2 separate regions of the Homo sapiens genome follow, and region 1 is linked to region 2. Evidence: promoter capture Hi-C in 16 types of primary human blood cells and fetal thymus (Javierre and others, 2016). All regions are on one chromosome and are shown on one strand. The core of a region is centred on a gene start or on the middle of the fragment in contact, and the rest is flanking DNA. Distances in the headings are between cores, read along the strand shown.

Region 1 (2,700 bases), core at 201-2,700, 910 kb after region 2:
ATCTGATAACTTCTTTTCCTCCCTTACATAACGCAGACTTCAAGTTAGTCATTCTTTTTATTGTTATGATTGTTGTCATCATCTCTGCGCGTCTTTCACATTTCCTTTCATCTTTGGATCTCAGAGCATTTTAAACACGCTAATTAATTTCACCCCCGGGTCCCCTAGGAAACAAGTTAATACGCCCGTTTCCCTAAGTGGGTAAACTGAGGTCGTGAAAAGCTCTCAAATTGATGGATACGCTTGATCTTCTACCGCGCCTCGTGTCTGAGTATATGAAAGCGTTTATGAGGAAGAACCCGTTCTCCAAAGCCCCGTGGAAAAGTTAAAGATGCTCATTTTACTTACAGGTTAACTGAAGTCCAAAAGATGTCTAGGTAATTGTTACGTAGTTCAAACCATAATTCTTCTTACATAGTGTTTGAATCTTAAAACCTCTAAAGACTTAGTGAAAAATGCTCCGAGTAGGGAAATTAATGTAAATCATAAACTCACGTCACCATCTACTTTTATTTTTGTACGTGCAGGTCTGTTAGAGGCAAGAGAGCAAGAAGGGGACAGAGGGCAGAGGTTTTTTAAAAATGTACATTTAACAGATTTTAATCACTACACACAAGGAAATGTGCCTTGGTTTTAACAGCACCAACAATATTCCTGTCGTTTAGTCATCAAACAGTATATCAACAAATGTTATTGAGAACTTTATTCATAAGGTGCTGGTTGTGCTAAAAACTGAAGCTTTATATATAAGAAAAGGTCATCTGTTTCGGTTCACAGGCTCTTTACTTTTTCTTACTCTGCAAAATGTTACTTTGTTTTCATTGCACATGATCTTTTGTTTCAGAAATGGCATTGTCCTTTACTGTGTCGAATATGTATTACTCTTACACTTAAGGATAAATGAATTTATTATTAAGTTTTCATAATAGGGTGAATTTAAAATATTTTAATTGTGGTAAAGGTTCACTTTATTCAGTTCTGTTTCAGTTTACGATGCGTTTTCTTTATAGCCAACAAAATATTTTCTGAGTGATAAGATTTACATGTCTCAAAACATTGTTCTTAGTGTACAAATACAGCATATGAATTCCTTGTTTTTTTTATTTATACCAACAACCTCTTCTGGGGAAAAGTCTTTAACTCTGAGGACCTTATTTATTTTGTGAGTTTTTATTTCTTCGGTACCATACTGGAAAGCACCAAAAATTTAAACCAAGCATCACTTCTACTAGCTCTTTCCTCAGGTAAATAATAATCAGAACTGTAGTAATAGTGAATAGTTTCACTTACTCTAAATTCTCTTAAATTTAATTTTGTACTATATAGTTGTCCTTACATTTTAGATTTTGGTGGTTGCATCAGAAAATGAAAGTGAGATGTTCGTTATTTTATTTTTTTTCCCAAAGCCTTCTAACCTGTTCCCTTTCTATAGTATGTTAAAAGAGATCTTGAGTTTAAAATAAATAATTGGAAAGTAGAACAGTTATATGTATGGAAAGTTGCATGTAGTGAAGTGGTTATAGTGTCTCATGTAGTGAATGTACAGGTTTTAAAGAGGAAACTATCACCTAGCTTTTTATTAGCATGGTAGAAGTGCTGTAATGTAATAGTAGTAGTATTTATTTGCTTCTAAAAAGTAAGCTGGAAATTTGCCTCAGTGGAATTTGTAGGGGGAGGGAATCCATTCTTTCCTTAAGATTGGCATTTAAATGTTCTTACAGTTGGTTATGTTGAACTTTTTCTGTGGTATTTTCAAGCCAGATTTACCAGGAACATTTGTACTTCAAGGAAGCTACTAACACTGTCTTGGCTCAGTCACTGGAATCCACAGGCAGAAGTTAGTGTTGACTGGCAAAGTCTGGCTTTGCAGGTTTCATAATTTCTTTGAGACCCCTTAAAGGAAATGACTGAAAAGTACGGGGTAGGAAGTTAGTCTAGTACTGCCAAATGCCACTGAGGCAAGTTTCAAAGGGGAAGCCAAAGGATGTTTCCATTTGATTTAAGTTCAGCCTCTTCTGGGTTGTCAGAATGTCACTTTTGTATTTTAAGAGTTCTATCATTTCAGAATATGATGTATTATGGTTTTCTAGTAGGTCAGGTGGTAAGGACTGTAGATAGTCATTATGCTTCGTGGACAACTAATGTTTTTAGGCAGAAGCTTCTATAGCTGATAAAGATTTTAAGCCAAAGACTTAGAATTGAAAACTAATATATACATACACATTTTACCATAATACATCAATGTAGACCTATCCTAGTATTTATTAGGTTAGAAAGGCTTTTTGGATTATTTTATTATACAGATATATTTAACTGTAAATATTAAAATTTCATAATGACTAATATATGATGGCACTGAGGTGGCTTTAGGAGCTCCTTTGGGGTGGGGGCGGGAAACATGTTATTCCAAAAGTTACATTTATGTCTTTGAGGACAGTAAAGCAGATTTAAAAGCCAGTGAGAAAAGGAAGAAAATCAGCAAAGTGAAGAAAACCTGATGAAGATGTTTTTAAATAATACAATGTAAAGATTGTTGGCAGCATTTATATATAAGGGACAAAATTCTAGTTGAAGTCTATAAACAGTGAATTCCACTTAGCACTTTCTGTTTATAGATTTCTAGCCATCTTTTCCAGATTCCCTCTGAATATATTACACAGGCAAAGTAAATAGAAGTCATTCTTTCAAGGGATTTGGGTT
Region 2 (3,687 bases), core at 475-2,974:
ATTCAAGTATCCATTTATTTTTCTCCTAACGACTGCTAACAGCTAACAGCTACTGATCATTTTCTTTGTGCCAGGAACTATATTAGGCACTATACATCAATATCTTATTTAATCCTAATAACTCACCACACAGGTACTACTATTATTCCCATTTTTAAGGATGAGGAAACCAAGGCACGGAGAAGTTAAATAACTTAATGACACGCCTGTAATCCCAGCACTCTGGGAGGCAGAGGCAGGAGGATTGCTTGAGCCCAGGAGTTCAAGACCAGCCTGGACAACATGGCAAGACCCCCATCACCATTAAAAAAAAAATTAATCAGAGTTAGTAACATGGCAGAGCTAAAGCCTGTTTGACTTAGAGAGCCTGAGCTTAGCTGCCTTCCTAACCTGTAAGAATAACTCGCTCAAGAAGTTAAATAAATGTTTCTGTTGTGTCACCTTTAGACTACCACGCTGATTTTGTTTCCTTTTGGCTTCCTTCCATCATTGAGTGCCTTTTATGTTCCAAGCATTGTGCTAGGGGCTGGGGAAACCACAATACAGTGTGATGAGTAAAAACAGAGGCTGCAGAAGGTAGCCCAAAAAAGGGAGGAGTTATCAGTCGCAGGGTGGGGAAGTGCTTTAAAAAGCTTTGCGCAAAAGAGGTTAAACTGAATTCCTTGGGTTTTTTGTTGTTGTTGTTTTCTAAGTGGGCCAGAATTGACTCAACAGAGGGTGGGAAAGGGGAATGGAGGGAACAAAGTAAAAAGTGGTGACTTCTAGATCTTTCAACTAAACCCAAGGCAAACTGACCCAACAACCTTTGTTACACACTTTAACACAACACTCTTCATACCCTAGATCTGAGAACTGTTAGATTATTTACAAACGCTACCTCCCTTCGTGGTCCTGATGAATTCCCAGTGAGGTCCAATCTGCCCTGGCAGGCTTCCGCTCATTTTTGTTACAAACAATACACTAAACCCAACCTACTAATCATCAAGGGCCTGGAACAGGTTTTGGACATTCGTCCCCAGGCTGCTGAGAACTGTTCTAGTGATGACAGTTAGAAAGGGTAGCCCTCCGAGGCAAAAAAAATGAGACATCTTGATTTTTTCTCTCCGCATCTGGGCGCGGCGATAAGAAGACATCACTGGTCTCCATCTTTCCAGGGGGAAAGGCCCGAGCTGCATTAGCCCCGACTGGGGAGCTGGGTAAACAGCCCACGCCCGGGAGAGGCCTGAGGGAAAGTGACCTCCCCCGGGGCCCAGGCCGACCAGCGGCGCAGCTGCTCGGCCGCCAGATGCGCGGACTCGCGCACTCCCTCGCCGCGCCCGGGCATTCCCAAGCCCAGCCGCCCGCCTCGGCCCCGACCCCTCGGCCGCCACAGCACACGCCGTTCCGCTCGCAAGATGGAGGCGAAGGCACGAGGCGCCCCCGCCCCCCAGGGAGCCTTTGTGCCCTTGCCGGCGGGGACGCGAGGCCAGACGGCCCGCACCGCAAGGGCCCCGCAGGCACCGAAGAGACGCGGGGGAGGGGGCCGGGCGCGCGCGCGGATCTAGCCCGGGCCACCGCCCCCAGCGCCGCGGCACCCCCGACACCAGCACCCGCACGCGGGACACTGCCTACCTACCGCACCGCGAACGCTTCGCACGTCCGGAGCGGTCTCAGCAGCCCCATGCGCTGGCCCCGAGCTGGCGGACCCTGACTGCAACTGCGGCCCTCCAACCGCAGCCCAAAACGCGCAGGGCAGGACCGAGCGCCAACCACGCCCTTCGGCCGCGCTGACCACGCCCTTCTTCCCGCCCCTTCTCCCTCCGCGGGAGGGCTTTCGGCAATTTCGCGCAGCGAATCGCAGCTCTAAGTCCGCGGCTCCACCAATACGTGGACGCTCCTGCAAGATGAGCCCGCCCCCTACTTCGTCCTGGCCTATGGGAAGCCGGGACTTCTTCAGCGGCTGTCCTCCCTCGCTTTTGGAGCTCCGACCTCAGCTTCGCCTGCGAGCTGGGTTGTGTAAAGGCTGGTCATTTTGGGGCGCTTAGGGGTGGGTGCCGGGGGGCGCGCTTTCCCTCGTGAAGGTCGCTCCAGGAGTCATGCGTACATTCGTTCATTTTGCTCTGGACGCACTGATGTTCCCGGCTCGCCGCCGTGCCGCAGTCACGAGGCTCTCCGAACGCCTTTCACTGTGTTTCTGTTTACATTCGCGTCTGCAAGACCCGGCGGCGCGACCGAGGCCCGAACAGGTGCTGCGAGGCGGGGCGGGGAGCCAGTGCTGAGGGGAGCTCCCCAGGCCGGGTGGTTGAAGACAGCTTCTGGGGGGAGGTGGAGCTCTGGCTCGTGGAGAATGGGAAGGGTGTGGAAAATGAACTGGTAGCTACTTAGCCACTCTGAGCAGCCTGCTCTGATGGGAAATCGGTGATGGAGTCGGAGGGAAGTGGGAGGCAGCTTGTGGGAGGCCAGGGTGCTCACTCTCTCCCCTGCCAGCATGGGACCTAGTAACTTTCATACATCTCTATCTATCTATCTATTTTGCAAAGATGGGGTCTTGCTGTGTTGCCCAGGCTGGGCTTGAACTCCTGGACTCAGACGATCCTCCCGCCTCGGCCTCCCAAAGTGCTGGAATTACAGGTGTGAGCCACTGCATCCCATCCCCTAGGAGCTTAATGACACTGCCCTTTAGCTTTTACTGCTTAGCAGAATCCGGAGGCATAGAGGAACTACCACCAGGGTGGCGTGGGGAAGAGGCCCTCCCTTCTGATGATTTTCTCTCAGCAGCACTTTCAGCAATCTGGCTTCAACTGAATATCTCCCCAGTTCATAAAACAGGCGTCTGTAAATGTCAACCCCAGCTGGGTGCAGGGTACAAATTTTTTCCTACAGAGCTCTTGAGTCCCAGGTAGTTTAGGAGACAAGGACTTGTTTGGTTTTCCCAGACCTGTCAGGACAGCTCAGAGGTTTTGTCTAACCCAGGGGCCACAAACTTTGGACAACAGCAGCAGCTAGCCCACAGATGGTTTTATTTGGGCATCGCATAGCTTTTCTTTGTTTGTTTGCTTTTGTTTTTTAATAAGAATTTGAATCCCACCACCACCACTGGTCCATTAAGTAACAGCCAGCCTTCACACATTTGCTGCCTACCTGAAGGCATTTGTGTTTGTGACCCTTGATCTTTTCTATACACAGAAGACCTCCAGTGGAGTCACCTAATCCCACAGCCAAGTCACCCCTGCTGGACAGAGAACTGTACAAAGTCCAAACAGGCGTACATATCCTGTATGGTTTCCTCATCTATAAAGAGAGGGGATAGGATGAAGGAGTCCCAAGGTTCCTTTTGGTTCTGATGTTCTGTAATTTTGTGTTGTGAGCAGCTTTTGTTTTTGCCTGACGGGAAAACTTTCCTTTGGGAATTGTCTGCAGTCCGCTGGGTCAGATGGTTCTTTAGCACCGCACTTCTCCGGTCTCCCAAGGCAGGATGGGTGTGGAGAAGGGGAGGTGTGGAACCCAGGCCTGACCAGCTGTAGTCTCCCTCCTCTTGTTTTCAGATTTCCCCAGGGATGCGCACATGACCAAACCTGAGATGATCTGAGCCCTTGTCGGGGATTTTAGAGAATGAGGCTGGGAGAAAGAGGCTCTTTCTTTTGGTGTTTCTGAGCGCGGGAAAAGTAGGCCTAGAGCTGTCTGTAGTTATACTCCTTGCAGCAGCAA

The links. Contacts are between HindIII fragments. The CHiCAGO score rates a contact against its expected background, and 5 or more counts as called.
Region 1: a contact is called between a fragment that was not itself captured here and the fragment with the promoter of CEP68 in region 2, in 1 of 17 cell types (naive CD4 T cells). The highest score is 5.5, in naive CD4 T cells.

What each region holds. Positions count from the first base shown.
Region 1 is chr2:64,140,995-64,143,694 of GRCh38, reverse strand. The region is part of intron 1 of PELI1 (pellino E3 ubiquitin protein ligase 1); the gene reads left to right. Among named protein-coding and RNA genes, the nearest start is that of PELI1, 2.1 kb to the left of the region's middle. The HindIII fragment of the contact is 1,420 bases long and covers 741-2,160 here.
Region 2 is chr2:65,054,453-65,058,139 of GRCh38, reverse strand. It overlaps CEP68 (centrosomal protein 68), which reads right to left and starts at 1,724. Exons shown (of 7, transcript NM_015147.3): 1 at 1,612-1,724. RefSeq lists silencers at 492-571, 582-631, 1,262-1,601, 1,682-1,791 and an enhancer at 1,892-2,131. The HindIII fragment of the contact is 3,790 bases long and covers 635-3,687 here.